3 separate regions of the Homo sapiens genome follow, and all the other regions are linked to region 2. The links are contacts of gene promoters, found by promoter capture Hi-C in blood cells and fetal thymus (Javierre and others, 2016). All regions are on one chromosome and are shown on one strand. The core of a region is centred on a gene start or on the middle of the fragment in contact, and the rest is flanking DNA. Distances in the headings are between cores, read along the strand shown.

Region 1 (4,225 bases), core at 411-2,910, 1.0 Mb before region 2:
ATCCCGTTGAACAAAACAGCAGGTGACAAGATGAGTTTTAGAGTCTTTTAGCACTTAGGATGTGGGGATGGGAGGAAAAACAAAATGATATAAAATTCAAGTTTTGAAAGAGTTGAAGAAAACCCACAAGGTATCACCTTCAAAACAAATATGGCCATTTGCATTAAAAATCTATACTAGTATGTAACTCTTGCTTGAAACACCTTCAATAACTGTTCAGGAAATAGTGATCAGAGTATTGCCTTGTAAAGAAGTGGATTCTTTTCCTAAAATTTGTATTAAGCAGATTCTGATATGTAAGTTTTTGAACCATCCCTTACCAGCTTCACATCTTTTACATAAATTACTACAAATGCTTGTGTAACTTATTGGCCTTTTTGTAAATTACTGTGATGCCTGAAAGTAAGATTTTTGAAATCTAGTCTTCATTTCATATATTCAGGGTATGGCAAATAAATATATTTTTTCTTTCTGTCCAGCCCTAACAACCTTATCACATGGCCTACAGAAAAGTAGTAGTATTTCATAGTCTTTTGTTTAAAGGAATTAGATTGAACATAAAAATAAAATGGCTGGGTGTGCGTGCTATATACATACACATAAATTCAGTCTGCAAAACCATCTTCATTGAAGAATTAATAACTATTTCTGGCAGTCAGGTGTACATATAAAAAGACTGATGAAGTAAAAAAACTATGGCATCTGCCTAAAGGCTTCTATCTGCACAGATAATGCAATAATGCTTTCTTGATCTAGTAATTACCATATAGTCTTTCTTCAAAACTATTACTATAAAGCTTGTGCTTTGTCTATCTTAAGGCCTATTATGACAGTCATCATCCAAACGCAGTCAAGTCTATTGTGTATAATCATAAGAAACACTTTGTAAGAGAAGAATTCTGGTACAGGTATTTTTATTGCAAAGTACTGTACACTTATATAAATGTAGATGAAAACATTTCTACAAGTACAACCATACACAAGGTGAAATAATTTAAAAAACACACACAAACACACATCCAAGTCCAGTCAGTTAAACAACATTGTGAATAACTACTATGGACCAGGCACTGGGATGCCAGGATAAACTGTGGGTGTGGTGAAATTAAATATCAACATCTATAAGTATATTGTCTTTAGCCAATACTGTGGTCACAATTTCACACTTAAATCCCTTGTTTTTTATATTCACATTCATTGTGGTGTATAATATCCAACTTAGCTAAAATACCTACACTCAAAAAGCTGCTCTGTCCAGCAGATCCTTGACTTCTCTGCTAATGGTGACATAAAGAATATCTTTATCCTCTGAAGCTTCTTTACTCCCTCAGCTGAAATCTCCAGAAATCTCAACCCATCACCCTTTCTTCTCCTAGTTGCCGCTATTCTCTCAGCTGAGTTCTACTGCCCAAGAGAGGGAGAAAAGGTAATCTTAGCAATGAGTTGTTCATTTTAACAACCTTATCAAGGCGGCTGGGGCTCAGGAAAATCCTTAGGATGCAGAACAAATTTAATTATATGAAGTACATCAAATGCTAAATGGGCATGTGTGAAGTAGGCGGAGAACACAGGTAGCTTCTGTAATATTTTTCTAAAGTAAAGCCAAACCTCTATATTGCTTTCCAAACTTCAAAAACTGTTTATAAGTGAACAGTTGTTATTCCTGAGTGTTTTAGAAAGAATCATATTTATTTAGGTTGAAAGCAATTAGGAGTTCACAATTAGGGAAAGCTATAATACAGACAATTAGGGTGAGAGGAGTGGCTGGGGAAATAACGTAGAAAAATAATTCTACTAACTAAAAGGGCAGACCTAGGTATGTGCTAGTGGTTCCCATGATTTTATCTTCCTACTCCTCTTCCCAAGAATGACCTCGTTTTGGTAAATGTGTGAATTCTTATGTAATCTCTATAACAACCAACCAGGAAATGGTATTGCTTATTAATCCATACTGTGCCTTGTGAACCTATGAATTTACTTTGAATCAAAAAAAGTATTTAAGCTTTAACAATATACAAAATACAGTACTTGTTAGATTCAATAAAGAAAACAAATTCATTCATTCATTAAGGAGTTATTGAGTGTCTACGATTTGGGGCTAGGAATCTGTACAAGAAACTAAATATACAATGGAGATTTCAGCCAAGCTGAGGATATAGATCTTAATCAAATAAACTCACAAAAAAACATAAAACAGAAAACGCTACAAAGGCAAGGTATTCCTTGTTGAATGCCGGGGAAATGTTAGAGAGATAAGGGAAGAGTCAGAGGAAGCAATATTTAAAAGATTATTTCAAATACCCCAGTGGGGGTTTATCAGTAGAAGCTGAAAGGAAAGGGCTGGGAAAGAGGACTTCAAAGCATAGGAAAATGCCCTGAGGCCATCAGGAACAAGTAGCAGGGCCTGGAAGCACAATGTGGCAGAAGGGAAGAGAACATGGGAAGTACAATGAAACGACCTAATGAGGGAAGCTGTAACAAACGTCTAGGCAGGACCTTGTAAGACTACATGAAGGAGACTTGTCTTTATATTAAAAGAAATAGGCAGCTATCAAAAGATTTTAAGCAACAAAGGGGGAGTGTTAAACTAATATGGACATTTTGCAAGGCCTCCTCAGGCTGCTCTGTGGAAAATGGTCTGGAGGAGGCCCGGAGGGGCTGTGGGTGGACCACTGCAGTAATCTGGGTGAAAGATGATGATAGGCTAGACTAATATGGTACCAGAGACAAAGAAGAGGGACTTGAGAGTTATTTAGGAGGAAAAAAACAAAACAAAACAAAAATCAACCAGACTTACGTTTTGAAATAGGACAAGTGAGGAAAAGGAGGGTTTCGAGAATAGCTTATAGTTTTCAGACTGCTATGACTGAGATAATGTATATGCCATTAACTAAGATATGGATGTTGAAAAAAAAGTTGGTTTTGGATACACTGGGACTAAGAAGTTTATGAGATATCCAAAAGATAAGTATGTCAAAGAGACAGACAAGTAAGATAAAGGGGCCTGGTCCTATAGATATAAATTTGTGAGACCTTGATACACAGGTCCTTAATGTCCTGCAGGTGGGATGAGCCAGGCTAGGTAAAGAGTACAGAGTAAGAAGGCGAGATGATACCTGAGATGAGACCACCACACCTAAGTCCCAATAATACATGTCAGACCTCTAACAGGTGTTTAACAGAGGGACAAAAAAGCAAATGGAAACAAAGCAGAGGAGAGATTAATTACATGAAGAGATATGGAAAGAAGCTGGGTTTGAAAAGTGTGTTAGAAACTAAAGACGTCATCTAGTCATGTGGTGATCATGCCAATAAACTACAAAAACTACCTGCATGTGTATGCTGGCAATATGAACTAACTCTTTCTGTAAAAATACAGAAGGAAATGCTAATACTGGTTACCTCTAAAAAGGATGTGGTGCTCTGTAGTGAAAAGGAAACCTAGTTTTCACTTATACTCTTTCTACTCTGAATAGTTTTCTGTGTAATTTTTAATTTGAAAAATAAGAGGGACAGGGGCCCAATAAGTCAAAACTGGGGCTATGGCTGAAGCACTAAGAGTGCTGTAAAGGCACTACAGAATAAAATCTAAACCATAAAGGATTTTAGGTAGGCAGAGTAATTTCTATGATATGCTTTCTTATCAAACCCCAAACTGGAGAACTCTGACAACAGAGATTTTCTAATTCTGAAAAATCAGATTAATAAGAGCTTTTAGAAATCTTGGCTAAGATTACTTAACCCTTCTTAGGTCTCTTCCCTCCCCCATTCTTTGCACACTGTACAGTTTAAGGGCTCATCCAAAACTGAAGCCATTTCGCCAATATATTGTAAATCTGAATTACAACTTAACCATATGTGACAGATCATCTTGTTTTCATTTTCTGCCTTTAAGACAGGCTATGATTAGGTAAAATACAACTAACAGTTGATAAATGTGTCAAGCTCTAGCCCAGTTTATCATGAGGCTTAAACTAAACACAGACTCTAACAGCACCTGTTTGTCCATTAGTTTTTTTCTGTATGTTTTGCAGTTTGATATACGAGGGCAGGTATGGAAATGTATCTTCTGCTAGCAAGTATTTGTGTTTTGTGCTACATTTTTGTTCAGAACCTTAATGCCTACACGGAATCCCTGACCTGCGAAAGACTCAAAATTCAATAAATCTATTTCCTGCTTATCTGTGGCTTTATGGAAGATCTTTTTCCTTGGTGGACAATGTAA
Region 2 (4,304 bases), core at 1,419-3,918:
CTCTGAGCTCTGTGGAATTGGTGGTCCTAATCCCCAAAGGTGATATATTCTTGCTAGGGGACACAGTGTCCCACTGAACTAAGCTCAGCAGGTGCCTGGAAACACAGGACTTCTAGAGTTCAGGGGCTAGTAGGCAAGAAAGGAATCAATGCTTTGTCAGAGGTAGCTAAATCCAAACAGCAGGAGGAGATACGCTTGCTGTTACACAATGGGAGCAAGTAAGAATATATGTGGTACTTAGGCGATCCACTTTAGCATCTCTTGGTAATCCCTTACCTTATAGTGACCATCAATGAAAAAATGCAGCAGCACCTGCCTGAAAAGAAGATCACTACCAGGCGCTCAGACTTCCCAGGAATTAGGATTTTTACACCACCAGTTTACCATAGAGAGCAGTAGAGCAGTAGCTGACAGCAAGGGAAATTTAGAATGAATAGTGGAGAAGAGAGGCAATGGATTCAGTGTGGCCTCAGGACCCAAAGATGGGGAGTGTAGTTTGTCTCACTAACTTGCCACTTCTAAATTTTTTTTAGGAAGAAATGTGCACTAGAACCCTGGAAAAGTTGTTCCTGAAAGGTGTATGGAGACTGGGTGTATGGAGACTGTGACAGGCACAGAGAGATGCTGCTCAGATACCTCTTCAAGAAAGGACTTGCTTGTAGCCTAGCTGCAAGCAGTGTGGTTAGGTGACAGCCTTCAACTGTTGAATCTTCATGTCCACCTTGGGTTTTTAGTTGAGGCCACACTCTTCTTGGGGTGGCTCTAGCCAGTGACTGAGCAAAACTGGTACAAGGGCCTAGCCATTTCATCCCATTGTAGGCCTCTTCATCTTTATTCTGGAGCTACTATTTCCTCCATTTTCCTTTCACCTTTATTATTCATAACTCTTTCTCAGTGTCTGCTTCCTGAAGGACCCAACTGACAAATCCAATTCTTTTCCAGCTCCATCTAGTTCTCCTCTGCTCAACCCTAACTTTCCTATTTCTGTTGATAGTTGTAGAGGTAGTATATTCATCAGGGTTCCCTAGAGGGACAGAACTAATAGGATATAGATAGATAGATAGATAGATAGATAGATAGATAGATAGATACACACACACGCACACACACACGTATATATATCCTATTACATATATATCCTATTTTTTATATATATCCTTATATATATATCCTAATATATATATCTATATATAAGGATATATATATAAAAAGGGGAGTTTATTAAGTATTAACTTACACAATCACAAGGTCCCACAATAGGCTGTCTGCAAGCTTGAGGAGCAAGGAGAGCCAGTCTGAGTCTCACAACTGAAGAATTTGGAGTCCAATGTTTGAGGGCAGGAAGCATCCAGCATGGGAGAAAGATATAGGCTGGGAGGCTAGGCCAGTCTTGCCTTTTCATATTTTTCTGCCTGCTTTATATTCGATGGTAGCTGATTAGATTGTTCCCACCAGATTAAGGGTGAGTCTGTCTTCCCCAGTCCACTGACTCAACTGTTAATCTCCTTTGGCAACACCCTCACAGATACACCCAGGATCAATACTTTGCATCCTTCAATCCAATCAAGTTGACATTCAGAATTAACCATCACCGGTAGTATTGTGGGTTTTTAAATATATGAATACAAATGTTCATCTCCAGATCCATCTCCTGTGCCCTGTATTGGTGCACCAAAATGCACCATCAACAATGGCCAAATATCTTAAATATGAAATAAAATAGATAACACTATTGTATACTAGCAATTATCTTAAATGCATCTTGTGTATCAACTAATTCAATTCTTAAAACTACTGCCTGGATGGATACTATTGGTATTTCCATTTAACAGATCAGGAAACGGCCACAGAATGTGAAGTTACTTGCCCCAGTCATCCATAAATAATAAAAGGACTCAAGATTCAAAATAAGTAGTCCAACTGCAGTGTTTTTATTCTTAATCATCACACTCTGCCTCCAGAAAGGAGTGGAAGCACAGCACCCTAAAACTGTAATAGAGAAGTGTGTGGAGAAACCAGTCCTGGTTTATGAAAGATTTGATAACATAAAGATATTCTTGGTTTAGGAAGAGAGTTTCCAAAATAGCAAGTAGTTGAACTTTTAGGTTTTGTTACTAGTGAAAAGTGAAGTTTAAAGAAACTGTTTGATGCCCTAGTTCTGCACGCTGTACAAACTGCTACTTCCTACTCAGCCAGGCAATCTCTTTATTCTCAGGTCATACCAGTTGGTACCTTAACCTAAAAGAGAGGCAACACAGTCTCTATAGAATTAGTTTTTCCTCATTATTTCACTCTATTTATGATTTAATATTCTCCCATTCTTATGGCCTGGATATCTTGGAATTTATTAGGCACTTAACTGTTGGTCAAACTCTTATAAAGTCTCAGGAAAATCTCTCTCTTAAGATTTTTCAAGGAAAGTGACAACTGACTGCTTTTTTAAAAAAAATTTCCCCAAAATGCAGTGAAATAGTTTTAAAGTAAATTCGGCTAGACCCTGAACACTACTAGGCTGCCAGTGAGCAGCGTGGATGTTAACTCGCTGGCGCGCATCTGTATGAACTACAATTCCCATCGTACACCGCGCCATTTCACGCTAAACTACAATTATGCTTTCCTCATTTCCGTCAGCACAGGCGCTGGATTTCGGACTTTGTAGTTCATGCCAACTTCTCTTTTTTGTCGCCATTTTGGCAACAAGACAGTGTGCCTGGATCGACTACTTTGACTCTGGTATTATGATATGGTATTTGAAATAAATTAAAGGGATAACGTGTCAAGCCAATTGAGCGTCAAGTTTTTAAATATTTCACTATTCGCCTTCTTCCTACCGTCGGTGCTCGGGAAGAGGAAGTGACGTACGTCCGGTGTAATGGCGGCGCGGTGGAGCTCTAGGTAATTATCGAACTCCGTGGAGTCCCCGCAGGCAGAGACGCGGAGTGGGGGTGGCGGGTCGCCGGATCGGGTGGGAAGTAAAAGACCCCCAGGAGTGGGTGCGGGCTCACTGATACGGCTGTGAGCGGCATTGGAGTGTGCGTGGGTCTTCTCGCTACGCTCGGGCCCGCAAGAGGGGTGTGAGAGCGGCTAGGTCCAAGCAGGTGGGGAGGGAATGGGCTGCCATGAACTGACTGCCTGAGCGGACCGGCTGACCTTCCTTGTGAAGTTCCTGGAGCTGTCTGAAATCCTGCACCAACGCTGGTGCTGTGTTGTTTCTTGTGCACTGCGTTTTATACTTAGAGCCTCTGGAGTCCATTGGGGCTTGCCAAAGCCCCTTTCCTAGTGCCCGGGTCCCAGGGTCAGGGGAGTGGGATTAATGAGATCTAGTTGATTAAAAGTTAGTTGAATTACTTGCACTCTTATGCCTCTTGCCGGCATTATATCCCTTTGACTATTTGTTTTAAATTTCATTAGCGTCTTCTTTTTCATTTATTTGCCCTGTAAATACTGATAGTGTCTAGTGTTTAGTCTTGAAGACACTTCGCTTCTCATGTGCCCGCTTCATCTGTCATTCTTGATCCTTCCATAACTTGAACTATCTCCAGTGAGGTAATAACTGCCAAACTTGGGTCTCCAGGCTCCACCTCTCTAACGAGCTCTGGGTCCTACAACACAGCATTATATAACGGAAATATAATAGTTAATTTCACTGAGTTTAACTGCAAAAACCACGGTACCTATTTCCATTTAATCCTAACAATTCTTCTGAGGTAAGTGGAGAAGGCAGGATTTGGAGAAAGGCTATTCTAGATGCAAGAATTAGGTAAGAGTTTCCTTTGCATTTTTAGATGTGCAGAGACTCGAAATAGCAGATAAGCAAGCAAACTTGGTTCTCAGCAGATCAGTTAACCTACCTCTTATCTGTATTTAGACTTACCTTGTTTTAGGATTGCTTGTGAATTCAGGAGTTAACATAAATTATCATCCTACTATGGAAGGGCAGATTTAAAATTGACATTAAAAGTGTGGTTTTGACCAGGAGAGGAGAAGCATTGTTACAGGCGTTATCAGTAGGTGGAGGAAAGCCACTTGTGTTGGTCCTGGGTGATGGACTAGTAGACCAAAGATTTCTGTTTTATCCAGCTATTATTAGGTCTGTCACTTGGAGCAAGTTACCTAAAGTCTCTAGTGTCAGCTTCATCATCTGGAAACATGTAGGTAGTAATACAATACCTGCCTCACTGTATTGTCTTTTTTTGAGTATAAAGAAAAATAATGCAGATGAGGCACTGAGCACAGCGTTAGCGTTGTATTATTGTAAATTACTACTATGATACAGTTGATGAGTTCTCTCTGTTCCTCAATTC
Region 3 (3,692 bases), core at 117-2,616, 1.1 Mb before region 2:
CTGTGACTGCCTTATGGATTTTCTGGAAATGAAATCTGATCTTCAAATTCCGTACTTCCTGAGTGAGGTACAATCCAAAGGGAGAGAAGGCTTGTAACTGAGTCTTGCCACGGGACCAATGGTGGAAGTGAGGGTCACAGAAATTGGTCACTATGTCCTTCTCTGACCACCACATCCATAAAATAGAACAGGGAAGAATACTCAGTTTTCTAGAGTCATTTTTCCTCTAGCAAACTCAGGGACGTCATCTGCCACACCATCCACTGAGGCTTTTCCAAAGCTCTGTGTAACTCACCTTGGACACCCCTCTTCCTGACTAGACCATGATGACCTCTTTGGGAAACACAGCGTAACTATTTTTGTGTCCAGCATTTAAAGCAGTATTAACTTTCAGCAAATAATTGAATTTCTCTAGTTAAAATTGGTGTCAAGGTAGATTCTTCAATGACTTCAGGAAAATCACTTGAATGAAACAAAAATTAAGGTGCTAAAGATTCAAACAACTGCTAAACCATACCTGATGAAAAAGAGGAGCCATTCGAGCTGATATGGATGTTTTAATTGCATGTTCATTAACATGTTAACTATGAAATAAACGAAAGGCTCATCCAGATAGACAACTCAATCATTCATTTTTACACTTGACCACAAACGACTAGTTACTCTGCTGGACATTAATGGGTCACACAGATGTATGAACTGTCGTCTCCCCATTCTCACTTTCAGCCAATAACATCTCGTTTCATGGAGGAGTAGAAGCTACCAAAGAACTTCCTACGAACCACATCTACCCTCCAATCTCACCTATGCCCATGTCCTCTGCAAATTCACAACAAGGGCCAAACACCTCACTTGTACTAGATCCTATCCCCTCTTGCTTATCTAGGGGAACTCAAGAATTTGGTGAATGACAATGCTGCTGTAAGTGCTGGATGCTGCACTTCCCAAAGAGCTTCTGCTCTAGTCAGGGAGAAAGACAGATGTCCAAGGTAGTGCAGAACTTTGAAAACACCCTGAATAAATTATGTAGCAGATAACTTTTTCAAGGACACTGCTCCTCCTCCCCTACACCATCCACTTCCTCCTCTCTAATCTTTCCTATCAATATACAAACATGCTGTAATTTCTCCCATCTTAAAGAAACTCCAACTACTCCCTACTTCTCTATTTCACTGCAAAATTGTCAGGAGTCTCCAAGTTCTCTATTCCTTGTTACTTTATTCAATCAAGCTTTAATTTCATTGCTCCAACAAAATTGCATATAAAAGTCACCAGTGTCTAGGACTCCTGAGTTGCTAATGGCTATTTAGGTCCTTATTTTATTTGGCTTATCAGTAGTCTCTCATGGGGTAGATCATTCCCACCTCCTTGAAACTTTTTACTTCCCTTTCAGGTTATCACACTCTCCTGATTTTCCTTTCACTTCTTGAGCGTTCCTTCCTGGATTACTTTGCTGACTCATCTCTCCTCAGCCTCCTAATGCTGGGAGTGCCTAAGCTTCTTTCTTCTCTAGCAGCACTCATTCCCTTGAGTGAGTGATCATAGGTCTCACAGCTATAAATACCAACTACACACTCACGTGTCACAAATATACATCCCTGGCCCAGAACTCTTGAATTCCAAATTTGTATATCCAATCTTGCACTTCCATTTGGATGTTTAATAGGCATTTCAAACTTAACCTGTCAAAAACTAAGCTCATAATCTTTCTCCCTATCCTGCTTCACCCTCGAGTTTTTCACCTTGGTTAATGACAACTACAGCCTACTAGTTTGCTCAGGCCCTAAACTCTAACTCCTTTTTCACACCACATATTCAATCTATCAGCAAATCTTCTTAGCTCTATTTTTAACCAGAACCTGACCTTTTCTTACTACTTACACTGCCACCACCCAGGTTGAAGTCACTGGTATCTCTCACCTGGATTACTGCATTAGCCTCCTAACTGGTCCCCCTGCTCCCAATTCCTTAGCCCCACAGCAAGTTTTTCTCTGACTGATCAGATTCTAATAAATCATGTCCTGTTGCTCGTTGGCTAAAAACAGCTTCCAGTGGTGTCCCATCTTATTTAGAATACTAGCCAAACTCCTTAAAATGAAATACAAGACCCTATGTGATCTGCCCACCTGTCATCTTCTTGACCTGGCCTCCTATTCCTCTCCTAGTTGCTCACCTGCTCCAGCCCTCCTAAGCACTTGCTACCTTTTGAATGCATTGGGCATGCTCTTGTTACAAGATTTTTTCAGTTGGTATTCCCTCCGCCTGTAGGACTCTTTTCCTATGTGGCTTATTCCTCACCATCTTCAGCTCTTGACTCATTTTTTAGGTGAGGTCTTCCCCGACTACCCTTGTTATAACTGTAATTCAACCTCCCCTTTCTTTCTCCCTCACTGCACACACTATTTCCCTTCCCTACTTTGTTTTTCTCCATAACACTTACCATCTAACATACATATATGTGTGTGAGAATGTGTGCGTACGCACACACACACACACACATATATATATACACTTTTAAATTTTTTTGGTCTGTCTCCTAGCAATTGAAAGTAAACTCCATAAGGGTAGGAATTTTCGTGTATTTTATTCACTGCTAATCCTAAGCACCCAAACCAATATTCCAGTGTACACAACTAATAACTTACTGAATGAAATAAATTGGATCCCTTATTTCTAGGGGCTCATAATTGAGATGATATACATACACAAGTAAAACATTATATATGTCCTTAAAAAAAAATAACCATGGAAGAAAAAACATGGTGTCTCATGCATATTTAAAATGATCTTCACCATTTGAGAGTTCTGTGACCACAGCAAGAGTTTAGCAGAGGGCTAAAAAGTGCTCTTCAAACGATGATAAAGGAATCAGGTAAGGGGTGCCAGTGAAAGCCCTACAGTGTTATCCCCTCATACTCTTTATCTCATAAATTAATACTCTTCTTCATCACTTTGTAGATGAAAACTTGAAATGCTCATATGAAGACCTAACTACCCCAATCTCAATCACTAGAGAATCCCTGACTTTCCTTACAGACCTGGGCCCCTAGCTGTCAGGACTTAGTACCACACACCTCTCGGCAACCCATTCCTTCACAGATTTACCTTTTCCTTCTCTTGGACTAAGGTGGGAGCAGCCAACATATCTGAGTTTGCTAAGCTAACTTAAGAAATACTCATGGTGTGAGACAAAATAGAAGTTGTTGAAATTATACTTCTGAAACTAGGGTGCTTCTTACCCAGTTACCTTTCAATTCAACCTACTGGCAAAGAAATAACATGGGGCAATACAGAAAAAAATGACCCTGTGACTCTTCATCCTACTCCATTTCCCTTTTCTCCCAGAAGCGAGAAGTGAAAAACACACACACACATACAGAAAACAAAAAGACTTGAAAAATATTTCAATAAACGACTTCCAACATTCCAGAGTACTCCGTTCCACATTACCAAATGGTATACTAGTTCCCTTTCCCTAAAATATTTATCTTAAAAGATGTTCTCAAAGGCCATCAGTTTCCATTTCTTCTATTAGATTTCCTTAAAATACAGCAAGCAGATACATGTATTTAGTTGTTTTCTTTTTACCAATAAAAAAGGATAGGAGAAATATCCATTAAGAAGACAGTAATGATAATGAGAAATTATGTAAAATTTGTAGGACAGAAAATATTCTGGTGAATTTAAGGAAA

The links. The method cuts DNA at HindIII sites, captures the fragments that hold promoters and counts their contacts. A CHiCAGO score of 5 or more calls a contact.
Region 1: a fragment that was not itself captured here is called in contact with the fragment with the promoter of CWC22 in region 2 in 3 of 17 cell types (naive CD8 T cells, naive B cells and total CD8 T cells); the score reaches 6.2 in naive CD8 T cells.
Region 3: a contact is called between a fragment that was not itself captured here and the fragment with the promoter of CWC22 in region 2, in 8 of 17 cell types (total CD4 T cells, M1 macrophages, non-activated CD4 T cells and 5 more). The highest score is 13.5, in total CD4 T cells.

The regions. Positions count from the first base shown.
Region 1 is chr2:181,046,184-181,050,408 of GRCh38, reverse strand. All of the region lies in intron 3 of UBE2E3 (ubiquitin conjugating enzyme E2 E3), which reads right to left. Among named protein-coding and RNA genes, the nearest start is that of UBE2E3-DT, 67 kb to the right of the region's middle. The HindIII fragment of the contact is 688 bases long and covers 1,317-2,004 here.
Region 2 is chr2:180,005,661-180,009,964 of GRCh38, reverse strand. It overlaps CWC22 (CWC22 spliceosome associated protein), which reads left to right and starts at 2,668. Exons shown (of 20, transcript NM_020943.3): 1 at 2,668-3,098. RefSeq lists an enhancer at 2,988-3,520. The HindIII fragment of the contact is 3,569 bases long and covers 1,275-4,304 here.
Region 3 is chr2:181,068,067-181,071,758 of GRCh38, reverse strand. No RefSeq gene overlaps it. Among named protein-coding and RNA genes, the nearest start is that of LINC01934, 54 kb to the left of the region's middle. The HindIII fragment of the contact is 267 bases long and covers 1,233-1,499 here.